2 separate regions of the Homo sapiens genome follow, and region 2 is linked to region 1. Evidence: promoter capture Hi-C in 16 types of primary human blood cells and fetal thymus (Javierre and others, 2016). All regions are on one chromosome and are shown on one strand. The core of a region is centred on a gene start or on the middle of the fragment in contact, and the rest is flanking DNA. Distances in the headings are between cores, read along the strand shown.

Region 1 (7,172 bases), core at 143-2,642:
GCATGCCTGTAATCCAAGTTACTTGGGAGGTTGAGGCAGGAGAATCACTTGAACCCAGGCAGGTGATGTTGCAGTGAACTGAGATCTGGCCATTGCACTCCAGCCTGGGCAACAGAGAAAAACTCCATCTAAAAAAAAAAAAAAAAAAAAAAAAAAAAAAAAAAAAAAAAAAACAGAGAGAGAGAGAGAGAGAAGGAAACGGAACTGGGGGGAGGATTTGCAAAAATATGGTTAGGGATGGCACTTCAGAGATGAAGCCATCCTGGAGTGTTACGGGCAAGGGAAATGCTGGGGCAAAGGCCCAGAGGCAGGAATAGGTTTGGCCTGTTGCATGAACAGTGGGTCCAGCTCCTAGCAAACTGTTTATTGAATGAAAGAAGAATGAATGCCTTGGGTCTAGGGTTGTGCTGGGCGCTTTCTTAAGTTTTCTTTCCCGGGTACCTCCCCAGAACTGGCATGCAGGTATTATTAAACCCATTACACAAGTGAAACTGGCCCAGAGACAGAAAAGTCCCTGGTCCAAGACCACACAGGAGTGAGGGGTGGAGGAACCCTCCTCCCATTGAGTTCTGGCTTTCCTATACTGAAAGCCCCTTCCTCTCCTGCAGTAAGGTAGGTGGAACCGCTGTCCCGCCTTGTTGGTGAATGTCGTTGCTAGACTTCAGACACATACAGGCTGGTCTGCTGAAAATCAGAGATGTCCACCTGCGCCCTATTCGAGGTCTCCGGCGTCTTCTTTGGCGTCGTCTTTGCCCTTTCAGAAGCGTCTGCACATTTTTCCAGGTGTCATTTCTCCAACTTGAACACAGGGAGCGCACTGGGCACGCGGGCACGTGGCTGTCCCCAGGGGCCTGGCTTGGGTCTCGCCCCTGGGCCGGGGCGCACTCGCGGGCGGGACATCTGGGGGCGCCCACGCGCTCTGGGACGAGTGTCGCTGGCCAGGCCCGGACTGAGGAAAGGCGAGTGAGACACTACTCGCCTGGGGTGCAAAATTTAAGGGAGTGAAAAAAAAAAAAAAAGAAAGAAACCAAAACCACCTCGAGTCACCAAAATAAACATTTTAATGCAGTATTTTTTAAAAAATCAACAGGAATCCTCCAAAGCCCACTATGAACAAAATAGCAAAATGGTAGAGAAAGGATCTGTGCCGCTGCGTCGGGCCTGTGGGGCGCCTCCGGGGGTCTGAAACTGGAGGAGACTCGGGGCTGTAGGGCGCGCGGATCTGGGGCGCGCCCTCGGTCCCGGCGCGCCCAGGGCCTCCCGCGCGGGGCCCGGCACAGGGAGGCGGGGAGGCGGGCGGGGCGGGGCGGGGCCGGGCGGCACCTCCCTCCCCTGCAAGCTTTCCCTCCCTCTCCTGGGCCTCTCCCGGGCGCAGAGTCCCTTCCTAGGCCAGATCCGCGCCGCCTTTTCCCGCGGCCCGCACGGGGCCCAGCTGACGGGCCGCGTTGTTTACGGGCCCGAGCAGCCCTCTCTCCCGCCGCCCGCCCGCCACCCGCCAGCCCAGGTGCCCGCCCGCCAGTCAGCTAGTCCGTCGGTCCGCGCGTCCCTCTGTCCCGGAGCCCGCAGATCGCGACCCAGAGCGCGCGGGGCCGAGAGCCGAGAGACAGTCCCGGGCGCAGCGCGGAGCTCCGGGCCCCGAGATCCTGGGACGGGGCCCGGGCCGCAGCGGCCGGGGGGTCGGGGCCACCACCGCAAGGGCCTCCGCTCAGTATTTGTAGCTGGCGAAGCCGCGCGCGCCCTTCCCGGGGCTGCCTCTGGGCCCTCCCCGGCAGGGGGGCTGCGGCCCGCGGGTCGCGGGCGTGGAAGAGAAGGACGCGCGGCCCCCAGCGCCTCTTGGGTGGCCGCCTCGGAGCATGACCCCCGCGGGCCAGCGCCGCGCGCTCTGATCCGAGGAGACCCCGCGCTCCCGCAGCCATGGCCACCGGGGGCCGGCGGGGGGCGGCGGCCGCGCCGCTGCTGGTGGCGGTGGCCGCGCTGCTACTGGGCGCCGCGGGCCACCTGTACCCCGGAGAGGGTGAGTCTGGGGGCGCGGGCGTGGGCGGGGAGCGCCGCGATGGGGAGAGGACCCCACCCAAGCCAAAATCGAGCCCCCGCTTGTGGACTGAGAACCCTCCCCAGGGGCGGGGGGCGGTGGCCAGGACGGTAGCTCCTGCATCGCGTAGGGGGAGCGGGAAGCCTCTGACCTTGGCCTTTGCCCGCCCGGGCTCGCGCCTCCGCGCCCTGCGTGCCCGACCTGAGCCCGAGGAACCTTGCCCCGGTGCCCGCCCCGCCGCGGGCTCCTCTCTGGAGCGCGCCTCCGACCCGTGCCCCGGCCCCTCCGAGCCCAAGTCGCTCCGGAGACACGACACGCGTCATCTTTGGGTCGCGGCCGGGAAGTGGGGTCACTGGGTCTGGACAGCCCCGAACAGCCAAGTCCCCCGAGCGCATATGGTGTAGGTAGAGCCAAGCGCCCTGAGTGCCTCACCGGTGGGTGACGCTGCCTGGGGTCAGGGACTGCAGAGCCCCCCTCTACCCAACTACCTTGGATCTAGGCCCGTGGCCACCCCGGACTCTAGGTCCATGTTTACCCTTTTGGGTTCTGTTTCCAGATGTCCGGAGGCAAATTCTAAAGCCTTAGCAACAGCAGCAATTGTAGCAGAAGTAGTGGCGGTTTTTTACCCTATTTATTGTAATTGGTATCACCGCACGCCACAGCCTAGTCTATCTTATCTCTCTGGACTGTCACAGTGGCCCCCGGAGGCAGATACAGTTATGCACCCATTTCACAGAGGAGTAAACTGAGGCTCATGTAGGACGCATAACTCCCTTGCCCTAAAGTCAGTGCCAGAGCCAGGACTTGAGCCTCTGTGTGTCCCGTTCTGCCCAAGAATCTGGACTACTGTCCCTTGTCTGCTGTCTCCTTGACCCCTCCTCTCCCCTCAGCCCTGCGCTTCATGAAGGAGCCTTTGACCTTGAGTGAGCCTTTCGTTCCCCCTGACCCCATGGGCCCCTCTCCCACGTGTGGGCAGCATCTTCCTTGGGCTTGACAATAGGCACCTTTGGGGTTGTAAGATGAAGATGGCGCAATCATTTAAGGAATATAGCCTGGGTTTCCCACTGTGGGGTCTGAGGCCCTGCTTTAAAAATATCTGTTGGGTTACTGTTTCAGATTTCTCCATAAAAGGAAATCAGTCGTGATGAGGAAGGGGTCAGGGAGGGAAGGAATTGAAGCTCTTAAATGTATTGATGGGGAAACGGGTGCATGTAAAATCAGGTGCTAGAGTGGACCAACCGGGTTTGCTGAGTCGACTCTGTCAATCACATAATGTCTAAAAGCCCCGGGCCCACCCCCCCCCAGCCCCGCCCCCAGGTGCCTGGGAGACAGTAGGTGCTCAATGAAGGGTGGCGGTTAGTTGGAGTTCTTGTTAAGAAAATCTGGCCAGCTGCGGTGGCTCAAGCCTGTAATCTCAGCATTTTGGGAGGCTGAGGCGGGCGGATCACGAGGTCAGGAGATGGAGACCATCCTGGCCAACATGGTGAAACTCCCTTCTCTGCTCAAAATACAAAAATTACCTGGGTTTGGTGGCGTTCGCCTGTAGTCCCAGCTACTTGGGAGGCTGAGGCGGGACAATTGCTTGAACCCGGGAGGAGGAGGTTGCTGTGAGCTCAGATGGCACCACTGCACTCCAGCCTGGCCAAAGAGCGAGACTTTGTCTCAAAAAAATAAAAAAAAAGGCGGGGCGTGGTGGCTCACGCTTGTAATCCCAGCACTTTGGGAGGCCGAGGCGGGTGGATCACCAGTTCAGGAGATCACGACCATCCTGGCTAACACGGTAAAACCCTGTCTCTACTGAAAAATAGAAAAAATTAGCCGGGCGTGGTGGCGGGCGCCTGTAGTCCCAGCTATTCCGGAGGCTGAGGCAGGAGAATGGCGTAAACCCGGGAGGCGGAGCTTGCAGTGAGCCAAGATCGTGCCACTGGGCGACAGAGCGAGACTCTGTCTCAAAAATAAATAAATAAATAAAAAGAAAATCCAAGATGAGTGGTTTCGAACTATGCCAGATTCTATGTGTGCGTGTGTGTGGTTCCCTGTTCTTCTGTTCCTTGTAGCTTTGGTAATTAATTGTGGATCTGTGCCTGGGCTTTCAGGGTCAGTAAATGGATTTACCATTTCTTTGCACATTTATGGCTTCCATATGGGCAGGGGTTTATGGTTTGTTGTTGTTCACCGTTGCATTTCTAGAGCCCAGAACGATGCCTGGCACATAGTAGGTGTTCAGTAAATATTTGTTCTGCAGTGGGGCACAAGTGGTGGAGTTCCTGGGTGTACTGGGCTCCTTTATCATCTTAAGGAGTTCCTTATTCTCTGCATAATACCTTCCTAAGAATTAGAAGAGCAAGCTCTCAGCAGGTGCTGTTCTATGCGCTTTGCATATATAATCTCAGTTAATCCTCACGGCAAAACCCCACGAGGTGCGGTTTAATCTTCCCTTTTCACAAGTGAGAAAACTTCGCTTGAGGCCAGCAGGCAGCAGGGCTGGGATTGCAATCTAGCTAGTGTGGCTGCAGAGCAATGGTTTCTTAACAAATCTTTGTTCTTTTGAGTCCGAGCCTCCGTACCCCCCACGATTGGGGTGATGGTGAACAAAATCCTGTCAAATAAATGGGCTGTGATGCCTCTTGAAGGCTTGGGGAGGGGCAAAGAACTTTTCAGATCATTAATCTCTAATGTCAACCAATATGGCTTTTTTTTTTTTGAGACGGAGTCTTGCTCTGTCACCCAGGCTGGAGTGCAGTGGCACGATCTCAGCTCACTGCAACCTCCACCTCCCAGGTTCAAGGGATTCTCCTGCCTCAGCCTCCCCAGTAGCTGGGATTACAGGCGTGTTCCACAACACCGGCTTATTTTTTGTATTTTTAGTAGAGACAGGGCTTTGCTGTGTTAGCCAGGATGGTCTCGACCTCCTGATCTTGTGATCCACCCGCCTCGGCCTCCCAAAGTGTTGGGATTACAGGAGTGAGCCACCGTACCTGGCCTTTTTTTTTTTCTTTTTTTTTTTTGAGACAGGGTGTCACTCTGTCACCCGGGCTGGAGTGCAGTGACACGATCTTTGCGACCTCCGCCTTTCAGGTTCAAGTGCATCTCCTGCCTCAGCCTCCTGAGTAGCTGGGATTACAGTCGTGTATCACCACCCTTGGCTAATTTTTGTATTTTTAGTAGAGATGGGATTTCGCCATATTGGTTAGGCTGGTCTCAAACTTCTGACCTCAAGTGATCTGCCTGCCTCGGCCTTCCAAAGACCTGGGATTATAGGTGTGAGCCATCACTCCGGGCCCAATATGGCATTTTGATTGGGATGAAGGGTGGAGGAAAATCAGTGTGATTTTTGTATCTATCTCTCTAGCTATCTATTATTTTTTGAGATGAGGTCTTGCTCTGTTGCTTAGGCTGGAGTGCAGTTGGGCAATGATGGCTCACTGCAGCCTCGACCTCCTGGACGCAAGCCATCCTCCTATTTTAGCCTCCGTAGTAGCTGGGACCACAGGCACACGCCACCCTGCCTGGCTAATTTTTACTTTAATGTGTAGAGCTGAAGTCTTGCTATTTTGTCCAGGCTGGTCTCAAACTCCTGGCCTCAAGCGATCTGCCTGCCTTGGCCTCCCGAAGTGCTGGGATCACAGGCATGAGCCACGGTGTCTGGCCTCTGCAGTTATTCTTATTCTTTGCTTCTCTCCTGGAGACCTGCTTCTTGCCCTTCCCCATTCATGCATAGAGACCACAGGGTGTGGGCTGAGTCCCCAGGGCTCCCCACCTCACCCCACTCTACCCTTGACTTCCATTCCTCTTTGGTTTAAGCAGAACTCTCAATCTTGGCACTGCTGACATTTGGGGCTGGATCATTCCTGGTGGTGGGGGCTGTCCTGTATGTAGAGTGTTGAGCTGGAACCATGGTCTCCACCCATGTGGTCCTGGGAGGATCCCCTTCCCCCCAGGCATGACAACCACTAATGTCTCCAGACATTGCCAGGCACGTCTCTGCAGGAGTTAACCTTTTCCCTGTCTGAGACATTTACCCATCTGGGCTCTTGCTCTTTCTCCTCTCTTTGTTCAATAATCCTCGGCCGGGTGCAGTGGCTCACGCCTGTAATCCCAACACCTTGGGAGGCTGAGGTGGGCGGATCCCCTGAGGTCAGGAGTTTGAGACCACCCTGGCCAACATGGTGAAACCCCATCTCTACTAAAAATGCAAAAATTAGCCAGGTGTGGTGGCGGGTCCTTGTAATCCTAGCTACTTGGGAGGCTGAGGCAGGAGAATCGCTTGAACCTGGGAGGCAGAGCTTGCAGTGAGCCGAGATCACACCATTGCATTCTAGCCTGGGCAACAGAGAGAGACTCTGTCTCAAAAAAAAAAAAAAAAAAGAAAAGAAAAAAGAATCTTCATTTACCCACGTGCTTTTTCAGCCTCTAAACACCCAGTACCCCCCAATCCCCATTACCTACCACTGACCTCCAGCCTCCACCCTGTCCAGCTTCCCCAGGCCAGTCCTCCCTGCCCTTTCCATCTCACTCTTTTCTCACTGTTCTGCCCCCAGCATCTGGCTTGCATCTCCGCTGCTTTACCGATGGCTCTCGAAGTTAATCTCTCATCTCCCAGTTGCGTCTCCTGCAGCCTCACCTCACTTGACCCCTCTGGGTTTGACATTGCCAGTCCCCCCTCCTGGAAGGCTGTGTCTCCCGTCTCACCTGTGCCTAAGTTCTTCTGTTTTACTGTTCTCTTCTCCTTCTACCTGGGCTAAGATGTTGGCTCTCTCTTCCCAGAGGGTCAGTGTTTCCTTTAATCTTCTCTCAGCTCACTTTTTTTTTTTTTTTTTTTTCACTTCTTCACCCGGGCTGGTGTGCAATGGCATGATCTTGGCTCACTACAACCTCCGTCTCCTGGGTTCAAGCAATGGTCCTGCCTCAGCCTCTCCAGTAGCTGGAATTACAGGCATGTGCCACCCCGCCTGGCTAGTTTTTGTACTTTTAGTAGAGACAGAGTTTCACCCCATTGGCCAGGCTGGTCCCAAACTCCTGACCTCAAGAGATCCACCTACCTCAGCCTCCCAGAGTGCTGGGATTACGGGCATGAGCCACCGTGTCCGGCCCTTTTTTTTTTTTTTTTTTTTTCCAATTTTTATTTCTTTTTAGAGAC
Region 2 (6,292 bases), core at 1,751-4,250, 100 kb before region 1:
TTTGAAGTATATATACACAGTGGCATGATTAAATCTAGCTTAGTAACAAATGCAGCACTTCGCATAGCTCTCATTTTTGTGGTGAAAGTGCTTAACATCCGCTCCTCTTGCATTTTTCAAGAATATGTCACGTTGCACATGATAAATACATACACTGTTATCTGTCAGTTAAAAAAACAAAAACAAAAACCACAGGCTGTGGCAGCTCACGCCTGTAATCCTAGCACTTTGGGAGGCCGAGGTGGGAGGATCGCTTGAGTCCAGGACTTCAAGACCAGCCTGGGCAACATAGCGAGACCCCACAAAAAAAATTTTTTTTTTTTTTTGAGATGGAATCTCGTTCTGTTGCCCAGGCTGGAGTGCAGTGGCACGATCTCGGCTCACTGCAACCTCTACCTCCCGGGTTCACGCCATTCTCCTGCCTCAGCCTCCTGACTAGCTGGGACTACAGGCACACGCCATCATGCCCAGCTAATTTTTTGTATTTTTAGTAGAGACGGGGTTTCACCGTGTTAGCCAGGATGGTCTCAATCTCCTGACCTCGTGATCTGCCCCCCCCCGGGCCTCCCAAAGTGCTGGGATTACAGGTGTGAGCCACCGCACCCGGCCCAAAAAATTTTTAAAAATTAGCCAGACATGGAAGCGCGTGTCTGTAGTCCCAGCTACTTGGGAGTTTGTGGCAGGAGGATTATTTGAGCCCAGGAGTTCGAGGCTGTAGTGAGCTATGATTGTGCTATTGCACTCCAGTCTGGGCAACAGAGTGAGACCCTGTCTCTAAAAAGAAAAAAAAAATTTTAAGTAAAATCACATACTAATTTCAGAAGAAAACAAAAACTAAATAAGCTATACAAAACCAAAACAAAGTAACGTTTACAAAAATGAAATGTATTATGCCTGCCAGCTGTTTGCTCTTTTTTGCTCTAGAACAAACACATCTTCATTTTTTTTTTTTTTTTTTTTTCGCAAAAAGGCTTGCTGACCTACAGAAATAGGAAACTACTGATAAAGCGTAAACCCTGACTCGGTCCAAACAACATCCGAGATGCTCAAATTTTCCAAACTCTTTATAATTTGGAATGTTAACCTAAACATCCAAGCCTGGGAGCATTCGCATATGCAAAGGGTGTATAACACTGATGGAAAGTTTGCCATATGCCAGACACTTCTGTGATGCACCTTACACAGATTACTTCATAGAAACCCCAACCAACCCTTATTCCCATTTTAAAGATGGGAAGACGGAAACTTAGTGAAGTTACACGGCTAACAGGTGGTGGAACTGGGACCAGAACCCAGCTCGGATCTGACCTCAAGCCTGTGCTCCTGACACTTCTTTTTTTTTTTTTTTAGACAGTCTTGCTCTGTCGCCAGGCTGGAGTGCAGTGGCCCGATCGCGGCTCACTGCAACTTCTGCCTCCCGAGTTCAAGTGATTCCCCTGCCTCAGCCTCCAGAGTAGCTGGAACTACAGGCGCCCGCTACCATGCCCGGCTAATTTTTGTATTTTAGTAGAGATGGGGTTTCACCATGTTGGCCAGGATGGTCTCGATCTCCTGACCTCGTGATCCACCCACCTTGGCCTCCCAAAGTGCTGGGATTACAGGCTTGAGCCACCGCGCCCAGCCTCTCCTGACACCTCTTACAGCTGGAGGATTAATCATTCACTCAGACACCTGCAAAACTCATCCCTTGGCCACTGGGCTGTCTATACTGTCCTGAACTCTCTCTCTGGTCAATGGGAAGAGAATGGGGCCCTTCAAAGCTACTGGCTGGAGCTTCATCTCCGCGAAAACAAGGCAAAGGGGAAAAGGTGTGTTGGCCGCTTCGCTTCCGTGGTAAAACTTTAAGAATGTTTTTTAATCCTGTGGTCCAGGCTTTAATCTCAACAGAGCAAGAGATAAGGGGCAGATAGCCACAGCAAAACACTCAAGTGCTAGTAGAATTAACGCAGGAAAAGAAAACCAAATACTGCACTTTCCCACTTGTAAGTGGAGCTAAACCTTGGGTACTCATGGACACCAAGAAGACAACAGAAACTGGGCTCTACTAGAGCGGGAAGGGAAGGAGGAGGTCAAGGGTTGAAACTATCTATTGAGTACTATGCTCAGTACCTGGGTGACGAGATCAGTCACACCCCAAACCTCAGCATCACGCAATATATCCAGGTAACAAACCTGTACATGTACCCCCTCAATCTCAAATAAAAGTTGAAATTTAAAAACGTAAAACAAAACGAAACATGTAAGGACCAGGGGAAAGCTTCTCGTTCCCGTCCGCAATGAAAGCACCAACTGAGTTCTTATACAAGAAACTAAAACCCATGGCACAGATAGTTCTCACGGTTTTGCACCCAAACGCTCCCTGCCAGGGAGGGCTGTCTGCTCCGGGGTGTGAGGGTTCTCCCGGGAGGCCTGAAATACGACGGTGCTGGGTATTGTGGTGGGTTCCATTCCATCCCTGGTCCTGCCCCGGGCGCTCCTGAACGAGGAGCAGAGGCTGGGGCCCAAGTGACCCCTCCTCTCCTCTCCTGGAGGAGAGTAAGCCGTAGCACCCCAGGACTGGCTGGGGCTCGGACGGAGCGGGCGGGCATCGTCTGCACCTCTGCACCCTGCAATCGCCGCCTAGAGCCTCCATGCATTGAAGGAGCAGCCTGCACCCCAGCACCCGTTCGCCTGCCTGGAGAAGTCCCCCAGGAGCCGGCGGGAGGCCCGAGGCAGCCCCGGGGGTCCCGCGCCCCAGGCCACCCCCTGAAGAGACCGAGGGCCCCCTCCTGAGCCCCGTTTTCCTCGGGACCGCCCCGCCGCCGTCCTCACCTCGGCCCGATCGCCCGCAGGCCGCTCTCCGCCAGCTCCTCTGCCACTCTCGCAGCCGCCTCCGATGCCTCCGTCCGGCCCCCCCAGATCCACAGTAGCTAGCAGCTGGGAGCCGGAAGCGGGAAGCCGCGCGAGGAGAGCAGCGCATGCGCGATCCCGCCTCGGAGGCGGGGCAGAGGGCGTGACCCGGAAGGAGGCGTGCCCTCGAGGGCGGGGCGCTCCCGGGGACCTGGGGCTGCTGCTCCCCGAGCCGTGGTGAGGGGGCGTCGGCTCGGCCTTGAGAGGGGCGCGGGCACCGAAGTGGGAGGGTGCTCGCGGCGAGGGTGAGGGCGACTTTTGAGGGGCGGGTCAGCGGGGTTGGGGGGCTTTTTGAAGGAGAGCAATGCGAGCCTGGCTGTCAGTAGGGCCGGGGGCTCTGAGGGGACAGCTGGGTTGCGGGGATCCAGAGGGAGAGCAGCAGGGTTAGGTGGGCGTTTTGTGGGGTTAACGGAAGCCTGGGTGATTAGCGCGGCTGGGGAGGGAGTCCTGAGGAGGACAGCGGTTTGGAGAATCTCAAGGGGGGTACAGCACAGTTAGGGGGACCCTGAGGGAGGACAGCGGGGTTGGGGGACCCCAAGGGAGGACAGCGGGGTTGGGGGGACCCCGAGGGAGGACAGCGGAGTTGGGGGACCCCGAGGGAGGATAGCGGGGTTAAGGGGACCCCAAGGGAGGACAGTGGAGCTGGGGGTGTTTTGGAAGAATCAACGGATGCCTGGAGGGGTTGTCAGTGGGCTCCTACGGGCTCGTTAGGATTGGAAGTACCTAAGGGGGGCACTCCCAGTGGTGGGGAGTCCTAGCGGGGAGAGTCCAAGAAATGGAGAGGGCAGGGTCTGTCACCTGAGAAAAAAGAAGCAGCATCAGGGAGTGGTGGGGGGATCACTTCATCCCAGGAGTTCAGGACCACCAGTCTGGGCAACATAGCAAGACCCCATCTCTACAAAACATTTTTTAAAATGAGCAGGGCATGGAGGCGCCTGCCTGTGGTCCCAACTCCTCCAGAGGCTGAGGTGGGAGGATGACTTGAGCCTGGGAGGTCCAGGCTGCGGTGAGCTATGATCATGCCTCCAGAGGCTGAGGTGGGAGGATGACTTGAGCCTGGGAGGTCCAGGCTGCAGTGAGCTATAATCATGCCACTGCACTCCAGCCTGGACAACAGAGCAAGACTCTGTCTCAAAATAACAACAACAAAAAAAGAGGCAGCATAGACTTCAGAAAGGTGGGTCTGGGAAAAATGAATCATATACCTCTCCAGTGGTCTCAGACACCCCAACATAGATACCATCAGATCCCCTAAACACAGGCACCCAGGCAGGTGCCATCAGATACCCAAAACAGGCTTCCAGGTAACCCCCAAATATGTCAGACACTCCACATAGGTCCAGCAGATACCCCCAAACACATACTAGATAACCCCAATACAGATGCTGTCAGATACCCTCAAACAGGTGCTCAGAGTCTGAAACACATACCATACCCTCCCCTATCCACTTCCACACAGGTGCTATTTGGCAGATGTGGATAGGCCAGATGCTTCCCCCAGCACCAGCAACCTCTCAATTGCCATCAGACACCCCAGTCTTGAGGTTGCCTGTCTAATCCAAGTCCTGCCACAGGGGAGGCAGTTGAACAGTAACCAGGAGTCGAGCAGAACAGCTCTCACCAAGGTTGGCTGGTCAGCCAGGCCTAGAAGATCTCCCCATGGCCAGGCAAGACGGCTCATGCCTGTAATCCTAACACTTTGGGAGTCTGAGGAGGGAGGATCACTTGAGTCCAGGAGCTTTGAGATCAGCCTGGGAAACCTCGCATGACCCAGTCTCTATTTTAGAAAAAAAGATTTCCCCAAACCCAATCACTTCAAAACATGCACAATATGTTGTTGAGAGTCCCCAGTTCAGAAGCTGGAGGGTTGCGTCCCCAGGTGGACTAGCCTTCAGTTCAAGTCCAACCTTCATGGTCCAGAGGAAGGGAGCATGTTCAGGGAATTGGATGTCCCAGAAATGCAAGACGTAATTCACCAGGCACCCTACTGCAGCTGAGGTCAGAAACTCTAACACGGGAGTTTATGAGGGCTCAATGGTTGGGCAGCTGTGTAGCTGTGGCTTATGGACTTAGGGGCATGAACCTTATTTTTTTTCCTTTTTTTTTTTTTTTTTTTTTTTTTGAGACAGGATCTCACTCTGTCACTTAGGCTGGAAGTGCAGTGGCACAATCATAGCTCATTGCAGCTTCCATCTCCTGGGCTCAAGTTGTCCTCCCACCTCAGCCTCCCAAGTAGCTGGGACCACAGGCACACACCACCACGTCTGGCTAATTTTTTTGTAGAGACAGAGTTTCGCCATGTTGCCTAGATTGGTCTCGAACTCCTGAGCTCAAGTGATCTGCCCGCCTGGGCCTCCTATGATGCCAGGATTGTAGGTGTGAGCCATCATGCCCGGCCTTTGAACCTTATTTCTTTCTTTCTCTTTTTCTTTCTTTTTTTTTTTTTTTCTTTCTTGAGACAGAGTCTCACTCTGTCACCCAGGCTGCAGTGTAGTGGTACCATCTAGGCTCACTGCAGCCTCCACCTCCTGGGTTCAAGTGATCCTCCTGCCTCAGCCTCCCGAGTGCTGGAATTACAGGTATGCACCACCAAGCCTGGCTAATTTTTGTGTTTTTTTTTTGTTTTTTTTTCAGTAGAGTCAGGGTTTCACCATGTTGGCCAGACTGGTCTTGAACTCCTGACCTCAAGTGATCCTCCCACCCTGGCCTCCCAAAGTGCTGGGATTACAGGCGTGAGCCACTGGGTCTGGCCATCAGCCTTATTTCTATAGCTATCTTGGTTATAGGAAACTTCAGGTGGACACAGCCCTCCCCTAAACATAGAAACCAACTTTCTCAGAGACAACTAGGAAGGAGAAACATCTCCCATCTTTCTTTTATCCATCCAACCATTCTGCATTTATGAGTCTTTTTTTTTTTTTTTTTTTTTGAGACGGAGTCTCACTCTGTTGCCCAAGCTGGAGTGCAGTGGTGCCATCTTGGCTCACTGCAAACTCCACCTCCCAGATTGAAGCAATTCTCCTGCCTCAGCCTCCCGAGTAGCTGGGATTGCAGGCACCCGCCACTACATCTGGCTAATTTTTGTATTTTTTGTAGAGATGGGGTTTTACCATGTTGGCCAGGCTGGTCTTGAACTCCTGACCTTAGGTGATCTGCCTGCCTCAGCCTCCCAAAGTGCTGGGATTACAGGCGTGAGCCACCACACCTGGCCTCATTTATGAGTCTTTAGCATGGACCAGGGGCGCTAGGAGCTAAGGAGATGCAAGGAGCTTAGGCCCAGAGCAGGGTTTTCTCAGCTTGGCACTTTCGACAATTAGGGCTGGATAATTCTCGGTGGTGGTGGCAGGGGTGGTCTCCTATGCACTGGAGGGTGTTGAGCGGCATCCCTGGTCTCTACCTCCTA

What was found. The method cuts DNA at HindIII sites, captures the fragments that hold promoters and counts their contacts. A CHiCAGO score of 5 or more calls a contact.
Region 2: the fragment with the promoter of ARHGEF18-AS1 here is called in contact with the fragment with the promoter of INSR in region 1 in 2 of 17 cell types (fetal thymus and monocytes); the score reaches 7.5 in fetal thymus.

The regions. Positions count from the first base shown.
Region 1 is chr19:7,288,634-7,295,805 of GRCh38, reverse strand. It overlaps INSR (insulin receptor), which reads left to right and starts at 1,392. Exons shown (of 22, transcript NM_000208.4): 1 at 1,392-2,014. The coding sequence starts at 1,915. RefSeq lists silencers at 811-990, 1,131-1,520, 1,541-1,820, 1,961-2,100, 2,151-2,210 and enhancers at 2,192-2,950, 6,853-7,172. The HindIII fragment of the contact is 11,558 bases long and covers 1,342-7,172 here.
Region 2 is chr19:7,391,767-7,398,058 of GRCh38, reverse strand. ARHGEF18-AS1 (ARHGEF18 antisense RNA 1) reads left to right here and starts at 3,000. Exons shown (of 2, transcript NR_186326.1): 1 at 3,000-3,066. All of the region lies in intron 10 of ARHGEF18 (Rho/Rac guanine nucleotide exchange factor 18), which reads right to left. RefSeq lists enhancers at 1-57, 2,133-2,312 and silencers at 69-269, 2,523-3,092, 2,801-3,241. The HindIII fragment of the contact is 12,223 bases long and covers 2,260-6,292 here.